3 separate regions of the Homo sapiens genome follow, and regions 2 and 3 are each linked to region 1. Evidence: promoter capture Hi-C in human tissues and cell types (Jung and others, 2019). All regions are on one chromosome and are shown on one strand. Each heading gives the region's core, a stretch centred on a gene start or on the middle of the fragment in contact. The rest is flanking DNA. Distances are from core to core; before and after follow the strand shown.

Evidence for each region. The method cuts DNA at HindIII sites, captures the fragments that hold promoters and counts their contacts. A contact is called where the count stands out against the background at its distance.
Region 2: a contact is called between a fragment that was not itself captured here and the fragment with the promoter of GXYLT2 in region 1, in 1 of the 25 tissues and cell types used here (dorsolateral prefrontal cortex).
Region 3: a contact is called between a fragment that was not itself captured here and the fragment with the promoter of GXYLT2 in region 1, in 1 of the 25 tissues and cell types used here (IMR-90 fibroblasts).

Annotation. Positions count from the first base shown.
Region 1 is chr3:72,886,319-72,889,853 of GRCh38, reverse strand. It overlaps GXYLT2 (glucoside xylosyltransferase 2), which reads right to left and starts at 1,808. Exons shown (of 7, transcript NM_001080393.2): 1 at 1,346-1,808. The coding sequence starts at 1,620. RefSeq lists silencers at 1,309-1,438, 1,539-1,768. The HindIII fragment of the contact is 12,200 bases long and covers 1-3,535 here.
Region 2 is chr3:73,501,216-73,504,750 of GRCh38, reverse strand. All of the region lies in intron 3 of PDZRN3 (PDZ domain containing ring finger 3), which reads left to right. Among named protein-coding and RNA genes, the nearest start is that of PDZRN3-AS1, 120 kb to the left of the region's middle. RefSeq lists an enhancer at 2,015-2,084. The HindIII fragment of the contact is 3,053 bases long and covers 72-3,124 here.
Region 3 is chr3:72,373,861-72,377,395 of GRCh38, reverse strand. It overlaps RYBP (RING1 and YY1 binding protein), which reads left to right. Exons shown (of 4, transcript NM_012234.7): 4 at 1-2,799. Among named protein-coding and RNA genes, the nearest start is that of RYBP, 71 kb to the left of the region's middle. The HindIII fragment of the contact is 4,095 bases long and covers 1-3,535 here.

The DNA.
Region 1 (3,535 bases), core at 559-3,058:
TATGTAGTTGTATATGTTAAGTGTTAACTGTGACTATTTGTATGTACTGCGGTTAGCACTGTCCCTGGCAATAGGTTAGCGATGTTAAGGATGACAGTTATTATTATCTTACCAGTTGTCCCATCAAACTTAGCAATCATATTAAACTTGCAGTTAAACCCTAATTAATCTCTTACAAGAAACTCCAGTATAGAAGAGGGGAAATCCTATTAATTTCCTAACAAAGATATCCTTAAAGACTGTATACATCCAGAAAGGGCTGTAAAGTGTTATAAGTACTTTAAAGCGACAGATTGTTGGGGTTTTTTCCCCCTAAAACTTGTCAGTACCCATTTGTACTGAGACAGAAGGGAAACAAAGGCTGACACAGCTACTTCTTGAGGTTTCGTGTCTTTTAGTTACAGTAAAGGCACCAAAGAGATTTAGTCATTATGGTCAAAAATAATTTTTCAACTCCTTTCAGGTTGAAATTAAGGAGCCCAGCAAACAAGGACGTTGCAATGGCAGTTAGAAACAACAGTTTTGAAAGGGCAGATGAAACAGACTCGCTACAAGACAAGGGGATTGTTGAAAAGCCCTCCACAACAAAGGAAATGAACTCAAATCCCTAACCTGCGGGGCGTTCCAGCAACCCTGAGGCCAAAAATAAAGCTCTCTGATGAAAAGCCTCCGCGTGTTAGGCTTTGTGTAGGGAAAGAGAGTATCAAACAGAAGGTCGAAGGTTAAGTTGTTTTTCTTGTAGGAGGACCCTTTGACCACACTCGAGCCTGAAACAGAATGAGGATCTGGAAACCCCCACTCTGTCTTTTCTGTGCCACGCATCAGTCCTTTCAAGGAGAAAACTTCTTTTTAATAAACTTAGGTCAAGTGTCCCTTCTGTTCTAAGCATGGGGGTACTCGAGGTTAAATGAGAGGCTGCCAGTCCTTGGTAAACATCTAACTTTTCCAACTCAACCATATCTAAGGTTTCGGTAAAATTCTCCAGTGAAACATGAGAATTAGATAAAACATTCTTGCACCGTGATGGCTTTTGACAAATTAAACAAAGGGTGCATGTTTGCAAGAGTGCAAAAATACGCCTTGCCTTGACAGTTAAAAAATGTAATGTACGAAACCACTTTCCTTGACACTTCAAAAAATGTACGTGATTATCAACACCGAGCTGTTAGGGGGACTCCACCAAGGTGGGTCTTCTTTTCTATCGGGTTAAGAAACAGAAGTGGGCAGCCCGTGGGTGAAACTTGGAAATCTGTCTCTCCAGCGCAAAGCCTCCCTTGGACTTGGCACGGGTGTAGGGAGCGAGACACGGGTCCGCAGATGGGATTCTGGGGTTGCCACGACTCACCTCGCCAACTTCTCCAGTCTCGCAGCGCCCCGGCGGCCCGCTCGGGGGCGCGGACGCGGGGGCCGGCGCCTCCGAACTCCCGGGCTGGCCCCGGGGAGGGCGCCCGGCCCCGGCCAGCGCGCGGGGACAGGCGCGGGGTGGCGCTGCGGGGCGGACGCGGGGCGCGCGGGCAGCGCTGGGGGCTCAGCGCGGCCAGCGCGCAGGGACAGCAGCGCCAGCAGCAGCGCGGCCAGCGCGAGCAAGAGCAGCGCCGCCGCCTTGCTGCGGAGCTTCATGGTGCGGCGCGGCGGCGGCGGCGGCCCCCAGGCGGCTCGGCCCCTCTGCGCATCGCGGCGGCGGCAGGATGAGTGCAGCAGCGCGCGGCGGTCGCCTCCTCCGCCCGCCCGCCGGGGACTGGGGTCGTGGCGGCCGGCGGGCGGCCGGCGGCGGCGGCGACGGCGAAGGAGGAGGAGAGAGAGGAGAGGAGGGGGAGGCGGTGAGAGCTGGGTTACAGGAGGAGCAGCCTGCGCCTACCGTACTGTGTGGAGTAGCCGCCCCTCCGCCCGCCCGCAGCCAGGCTCTCGGGCTTCTGGTAGCTCAGACTCAAAACCACTTCATTCATTCATTCGTTCGTTCGTTCGTTTACTTCCCCATTCACTCACACACCCATGCCATCCACTGTTCCCGCTGATTCTCTCATACCATGATTCACTTATTTGTTGATGTATTCCATGTGCTTCCTCCTTATTTATTTTATCCATCTATCCACACATTTGTGCACTTATCCACACATCCTTTCAGGCAGGAACATCTCTGTCCTGTTTGCCCAGTGCAGGGATCTGCGGGTGGTGGTGCCCAATAAATATCTGTTGAATAAACCCCTATTGCCGCCTCTGTCTTGCCACCTCCCTTTTTCCTGGAGGAGGACATATTCAACAAGGACACATGCAAAATAAGGCAAAGCGAGTAAAAGTAACACGTGATTAGTAGTTGGGGTTTCAGACTCAAAACACCAAAGTAGAACTTGGGACAGCTAGACTGGACCGAACCGATCCATGTAGTCTGAAGAAATTAGAGAATGAATTTCAAAGTTTGGATTTGAAATCTGACACTGTGCTTAACTGGCTTGGTGATCCTGAGGAAGCTGCACAACTTTCTTAAGCCTTAACTTCCTTACGTGCAAAATGGGAATGACAATACTGCTCACTACAGAGGCGTTTTGTGAGCATTAAATTAAATAATGCCTTCAAAGAAACTAGCACAGTGCCTGGCTCACAGTCGGTGCCCAATAAAAGTTCTGTAATGATTAGTTCAATAAAACATAGCTTATAATATACACATAAACACACATTTTATTTTCTTTCTGGCACAGATTTGAGATAGAGTAATAATTTCACAACACAATGTAAGAATGGCTTCTTTGGAGACTTTAACAGCTGCAATCGCCAGATGAAGGTCGTAATTTCCAGACGATTCTTCCAGGGGATCCCCAGTTACAAATCTGAAACATTAGGACACATCCTCTTATGACTCACGGTGAACTGACAGCCAGGACTCCATTAACTCTCTTTTCAGCACACCACAGAACAAAGAACACTAGTTAAGTTATAACAACGTCCCTGAGTTTTTCAGTTTTTTTTTTTTTTTTTTTTTTGGATCACTCTGTAGCCCAGGCAGGAGTGCAATGGTGCAATCTTAACTCACCGCAGCCTCCGCCTCCCGGGTTCAAGCCATTCTCCTGCCTCAGCCTCCCAAGTAGCTGGGATTACAGGCTGCGCCACCACACCCGGCTGATTTTTGTATATTTAGTAGAGACGGGGTTTCACCACGTTGGCCAGGCTGGTCTTGAACACCTGACCTCAAGTGATCCGCCCGTCTCGTTCTTCCAAAGTGCTGGGATTACAGGCATGAGCCACCGCGCCCAGCCCGTCCCTGAGTTTCTACAAGATTCCATGTTGCTTTATAAATAATCTAAAATTTAGTTATATTCTGAATTATTCTCATATTAGCATTTTATTTTAATTCCTTGAGAACCCATTGTATTAAAAGTTCTAGAGATGAGAATATTTAGTAATTTGGAAGCTCTTGCCAAGCAGACATCTAGGAAATGGCAGGGTGCAAGTTCAGTGTGGGGGACATGTTGTAGGTGAGTAAGCGCAAAGAATCCATTAGTTCTCAAAGATGAGGGAGAAGGTTCCATCCTACCAGGAA
Region 2 (3,535 bases), core at 349-2,848, 620 kb before region 1:
AAAAGTGGTATACTTTGGAGATGGGAAAGTGGCTTGTGGTTGCAGGGAGGTGTTAAGTCACAGCATTATTTCACTTCTTGAAAATGAAGCCCTCAGAAAATGGAGTCATTACAAAATATGTCAGATCTGTAATCACCAACCAAATGATTTGTCAGAAGCAGCCCAGGTTAATAATGGCTGTCCAAGAAAGAGTGTTCAGATGCATGTCAGGGCCGAATTGAGTCCACTGGTGTGGCTGAGATGAGGAGTCCAGAAAAATAACATTCTCTGTTTGGAACCAGGAAGGTTGTCATGGAGATGAAAATCTTCCTGGTCCCATAAAAACCCTGCTTGTCATCTGACTTGAGCCCCGTATTTGCACAGGTGGTTCTCCTGAGAAGGGCTGAGTAAAAACAAATCTATTCTTCCTGAATGGCGCCTTTATGTGTCCAAGAGAATATGTTTCCTTTCTTCAGTCCCTCAATTAATGACCCATTATCAGCTAATTAAATCATGTAAATTTTATGTGAGTTCATTTGTTACACCACATGCTAACTAAGTCTATTCCTGTGTGTTTAACCATATAACTGTTTTAATTGTGAGAATGAGGTACATCAGGTGGGCATCTGGAGAGAATAATAAAGTACTCAAGAAAAGCAGACACACATACACAGCAGTGTAATATTAATTTCTGTTTATAAAGAAGGCAGAAATATGAATAAGTGAATGTCTAGCACATGCCCTGTGACTTCGGGATACTGTGTTCAACTCTATTCTCTACAGAAAAGGAGTCACATGGCTGGGTTTCTGTTTCGCTGAGTTACGTTTCAGATGCAGAAGTCGACTGCATGATACAAAAACACATCTGTTTAGGCTCTCCCCCTCCCCACTCTTGCTTTCTTTCCTATGTGTCAGAGAGCAGAACTTGATCTTTGTATACATTTTGTATAAAAGCCTTAATTCTAGGTTTAATTTCAGTTTGTGATACCTTTCTGCCCCAAAAAAGTTCAAAGCTTTTACCAAGTTTCTCAAGGCACGTTCATGGTTGCACTGAGAGAGTTGAGTTCAGACACAATAAATGCTGTGTTACATTTTTGGAAACGTACTTGTATTGTCATTTAAGACCTTGCAAAGTACATAGGGAAAAGCATTAGATGATGTCCTCTATAGTCAAAAACTACCAAACAAAGCAAAAGAAGAATTTTTTATTGTTCATTGGATAAGGCCAAGTAGACAGCAATGGGAATAATACTTTCATTAAAGCTTTACGGATAAAGAAATGATTTAAAGTGAAGAAATCATACTTTTTTTGAAGCCTGGTATTTAAAGAATGAAATCATACTTCCTTGAGGTTTAAAAATATTCATGTGTAATGCTAGACTTTGGTTATGCATTCCCAGATGTTTAACGCACTCATCATTTGTAAATGGAACTTACGTCAGATTTATGACCTCAGAATCTTCAAGTAAATAAAGGACCACTTATACATTTGCTTGTAAAGGTAGCACCTAATAGAGAAAATTTGAGGGAACCATTAAAACAAGTATAGGTTTAGCTTATAAAGGAAACACTAGTATCTAAAACTAGTTTAATTTCTTTTAAATGGACTGGGTTACCAAAGTACTTCATGACATTTTATGTTAGTAAAATGTTAAAATTTTTAAGTTAAAATCAAGAAAGCATTGAGATAAAATTGTTTTATTCAAAACAACAAAACTACTATCCATGATAGTATAATATTCTCTGACCAACAGTATTCATATACACAGCCCCAGAAGTGCAAAACCACAACTGTGTTTTCACACCTGTCTCTTGCAAATTCTTACTTAACAGATCAAAATGACCATCTTGTAGAAAGTATTTTGTGTAAGACACTGTCACCTGTGAGCCAGCAGGTGGTGCTCTGGTACCACGTCTTGATCATTCGTTTCAACTGAGAGAGGAGGGCTGCAGTCTCAATGATACCAGGCTCTAGGATTTTCTGTAAGATGCCACACAGCTGATCTTTAGAAATACCTGGCCTCTGGGGGATTTGCTTTCCATCTGACCATTTAACATCCTTGACCGAGCTGCCTTCTCTATAGCTGTACTGTTGAAATTTGTCATTTCTTACAGCTGCCTGGTTTCATGAGCTGCCAGTCTCAGAACATAGCATACCATAAAATAGGAATTCTGACCACGCAGCCTTATGGGTAAGGCAAGGGAGGGAGTTGAAGGGAAACCGCTATAGTAAAAGAAAACTCAGAAAGATAAATGTTAAATAGAATCAATGGATATTGGAGAAGATAATTTTAGTTGTTGGTGGCCTTAACTTATGGAGAACTCAGTATCTTTTCTCAGCTCCACCTAACAGTTCCCATCTTTTAGGAAAGCAATTATTTAGATGCCAGAGAACACCATTATGGAAATGGAATCTTTTTAAAATAAAAACCTATCATTTTGACTGCAACCAAGTTATAGTTTTGACTGAATGCATAATTATTACCCCAAACAAAAGGTTTTATACCTGATTCCATGCCATGATTCTTCATTGTGACCCTTTACTTGATTCTCCATCATGAGCAACCAAATCAAGATGCACATGTGTAAGTAGTGCCTTATTTTTTTCTCACTTAGCCCACTGTTGTTTCTCTTTGCTTAATAGCACAGCTCTAAGAAAACGGTTGCATTTGGTCTACAAGCTAGCAGCAATTCAAGGAGCTTCATTTTCTAATGACTTGTTTTATTTTATTTTATTTCATTTCATTTATTTATTTTGATACTGAATCTGGTTCTGTCACCCAGGCTGGAGTGCAGTGATGCGATCTCAGCTCACTGCATCTCCGCCTCCCAGGTTCAAGCGATTCTCCTGCCTCAGCCTCCTGAGTAGCTGGGATTACAGGTGTGTACCAACATACCCGGCTAATTTTTTGTATTTTTAGCAGAGATGGGGTTTCACCATGTTGGCCAGGCTGTTCTTGAACTCCTGACCTCAAGTGATCTGCCCGCCTCAGCCTCTGAAAGTGCTGGGATTACAGGTATGAGCCACCACACCTGGCCTTCTAATGACTTGTTTTAGAATGTGGATGTCAATGTCACCCACCTTATTCTCACCAAATATGGAGCTAGAGAGCCAAGTTTAACGAGGTTTTCCTTTGACACCCTGAGAGCCTCGCGTTGCATCCACTTCTTTCCAACATTATTATTTATGCTTTTTACATAGTAGGCACACAGCAGGTATTTGTTGAATGAGCCATTGCTAGATTAGAAGTGGGAAAGACTGACAGTCGAATCGTTAGGAGTCGTCTGCAGTCGTCAAGGTGAGTGATGACAGTGGCCTGTATAGGGAAAGGGGGAAGCTGGAGATGGGATGGATGTGCCCTGTTGGAGAGACAGATTCCACAGAATCTATGAGCAAACTCCAGGAACATGTTAAAAGTAGATGAGATCCTGAATGGAGGGCATCACCTCCAAAGCCCGTGTCCCAGTTGACAGTGGAAAGGACTCAGAGAGATGCCTCTAGCTCAGGTGAGGAGTGGATGTGATTTTAAGCCAAGGTGGAAAACAAGTGGGGAAA
Region 3 (3,535 bases), core at 575-3,074, 510 kb after region 1:
TGTCTTAGTTTTAGGATTGAAACAGTCTATAAACTGTATTTTTGGTCCATCCAGGAAGCTAGTCCCTTGTTTCTCCTTTCTACATGACATTGCAGTGGTGGTTTCTGTAATTAAAATTTGTTTGCCTCATGTCCCTTTGTCTGATAAACCTTCACTCTACCGATTCAGTTGTGAGCATTCTTTTTTTCCTTCTCAAAACCTACTATGATTTGTTTTACTGAACAAAGGTTATCAACCACACATCCAGTCCTGACATGGAGCTTTTCAGTGTTTGGAGACATTTCTCAATCCCCTGCTGTGGTAGGAACTCCAGTGGTGAACGGCTTGCGCGCCTGCAGCCAGAGTTGCAGGGAAAGCTCGTACTTACTGCGAGCAGCATGTAATCTTTTTTCTTCCTGGACATAAAGATAGCTTGAGTAAACTGTTCTATTTCATTCTCTTCACTCTTTTTACTGTCTTGCAAAAAAAAAAAAAAAAAAAATAATCAAAGACCACTAATAAGATTCCACCTCTCCTTATTAAAATAATTTTTTAAAATTTTGTTTTGCTTTTGTTTGGATGTGGGGTCTCTCTTCTATTTGACTTTTACATTTAGATACAGAGTTTGTAGTACTTCAGAGACATTTCAAGCATGAGAATTTGAGGTTACCTCTCTTTATTTGACCTTTAGGGACTCACGGGAGGGCAGCCTGATTTGTAATGAAGCACCACATTTTGGTGTTAAAAACCTGGTTTGCTTAATAATAGCAGTAATTTCTGTCTGTGGAGGCAACAAATAAAAAAATTAACAGCTTGAATTGAGTAGCCAACAGGAAAGGTTCCTTTCACATTTACATTAAAACTATTCTGTAGTCACTAATGTACCATAATTTAAATTCTTTTCTCAAAGGTATAGATTATAAAGCAGTGCCATTTGTTGCTGTGGTCCTATTCTCAAATGCATGGACAATGTTCCCCCCTTTTTAAAATAATGCTTGTGTCTGGGATGCAAGCTTTGCTTATCTTTTTAAATACATTTTTAAAGTATTTATTAATGAACCAAAGGAAATCAGATGCTTTCTATAAGCATCAGAATATATAATACATAGTGATTTGACTATGAATTTTAAATCCACATTTTAATATTGGTGGGATATTGCAAAGACATTCCTTCTAAAGTTTTAATATTCCTTTTATTAAGGGTCTCAGGGAGGGTAAATTAGTCAGCCATATTTATTTTCCAGAGGTTTAAGAAATTGCTGTTTTTAACTTTTTGAAAAAACTTAAATGCCACCAAACTCATGTAGGTTGCACTGCTTATTGAACCAATAACTGTTGGTATGCACTTTGTTCAGACACACTGTGTACTTTTTCAAAAACTAGTTTCATGTAAAGTGATTGGACCCCATAGATTAGTGGAAAAAGCTGATTAACCAGCTACTCATAGGCTGCTAATTCATTCATGCCAATGTTTTGGTTTTTCAGTTTTGCCTCCGTGATAAATTAAAGAATGGGGAGGGGTGAAGGAAGGGGAAGAAGATTGCTTTAGAACAAGTGGCATGAAATTACCATCTTTGTAGAAACCGCAGCTAACAGTGGGAGTTATCTAAGCAATCAGATGTTACAGGGCCAGCCCTTTAGCTGCTGTGGTGTATTCTGTTGGGTAGTGAGGTAGTAGGTACTTTATAGACTTTTAATTTTGGAAATTGATGACATCCCTCAGGCATGTATTCTGGAAATGGAATTCCTGTAACTTCCTGTGTCTGCAGTATGCCCTACAATTAGTAGGCAGCGTGTAAAAACACTAGTGTAGATTATAAAGATATACATTAAAAGAGGACCAGAAATACTTGGTATTCAGTGGCACAGAAAGCAGGTTAAACAAACAAAAAGCACAGTGTTACGCTTGCAAGTTTCCATTTGTTTTAATACCACGCAATCTTTCACACTCGTGCGTGTGCGCGCACACAGAGCTTACCTGACTTGCTCTGCTTGAGTCATGCAGTTACAAAAAAAAAGACATCTTGACACCCACACAATATTCTAATCAAAACCTTTCAGTTTCAATCTGGATATTTAAAAACATTGGCAGAAGCTTCTGTGAGTTTAGTTCCACTAAGATGTTTCACCTGCCTTATCAAGACCATTCTCAGTCTACTTTTTTAAGCTACCGTATCTTAAATTATTGAAAATTTATTAATTGCTGAATATATAATAACCTTTGCTTGTATGTAACCGAAAATGGTTTAAGAGCCAACATTTAGAGTATGACAATGGAGCTGAACAGTTTTTAATGCGCAAGCAGTTCTGTTCTTGTGTATGACTTGTAACCTTAATTTACTGTGTAAAGATGGTTACATTATTTCCTTAGCTTTGTTTGTTGGAGACAAATAGAGAATGCTTGTTAAGTATGTCAAAACAATCTTATCTTGTGAATTTTTGTTAATGTATTATACGAGCTATATTTTTCATTTGCCCAGAAAGACAGCTTGTATAACGCTTTTGGAAGTTTCTGCTCTGTAATGTCTTTAGAGCTGACAGTCTGTTAGGTTTGTTTTTTTCTTCATGCTAAAGTGTCAGTTGGTGGTTTTGTGAACTGGTCAAAAATTCACAGGTCTTAAATGTTTTGGGGGAAATTTATATTGGACACTGCTCTTTGTCTAGCAAATAAAAGATGTTAATATATTCCTGTTACTGGCATGTGCACGACTATGTTATTAGAAGCCACTTTATCATTTTCCTGCTTTAAATAGAAATGTCTATTTATGAATTCTGCTTGTAGTTTTTTCACAAATAAAATAGTAAAATTTACATTGGAAATCTTTATTTTTGTGTGTATAGATTTTAGCCTTTAGAATAATAGTTAATTTTTAATCTGTGGAATATTTCCAATGTGAATAGGAAGCTCACTTTGTATTTTAGAACTTGTTTATCAGAAGCTGAAATAGCTGGGTATCTTAAGTACATACCTCAAAGATGCAAAAGGAGACATAATGGGGCAAAAGAATCACCAAAATTTGAAAGAAAATGAACTGTCTCCTAAGTGTAACCTTTGAGATAGATTGCAATGATGTAAAGGAAGGAAATGGGATTTAAGGAAAGAAAATGGAGATGATGCTAAAATATGCTAATTGAGGACTGAAAATCCTCAAAAGACAACCCCTGTTTCTGGCCAACTGGATTTAGGTCAACTATGTCTCAGAGATGTGAATAAAGTGTGTTACTAACCTAAAAGCCACACAAGCTCACTTATTGCCCCATGCGAGGGAGACTCCTGCCTGCTGCTGCAGGTGCTGAGGCATACCAGTCTATAACCTTCCAAAGAATTAAGAAACCACTTAAAACATGTCAAGATCCATCCCCGATTATTTTGTCCTGGGTCTGCACCTGAACTAGCACTGGAAGGAAGAGAGTGTAAATAGCGCAGGATGTTGAGTTGAAAATGGGTCTGTTCTGATAAAACAGCAAGTTCCATTCTTCGTCCTCATTTTTTAGTACTGAACGTGACCCAAGTTTGGCCCCTCAGAAGTCTTGGAAAGGATCTGGAAGGGTTGAA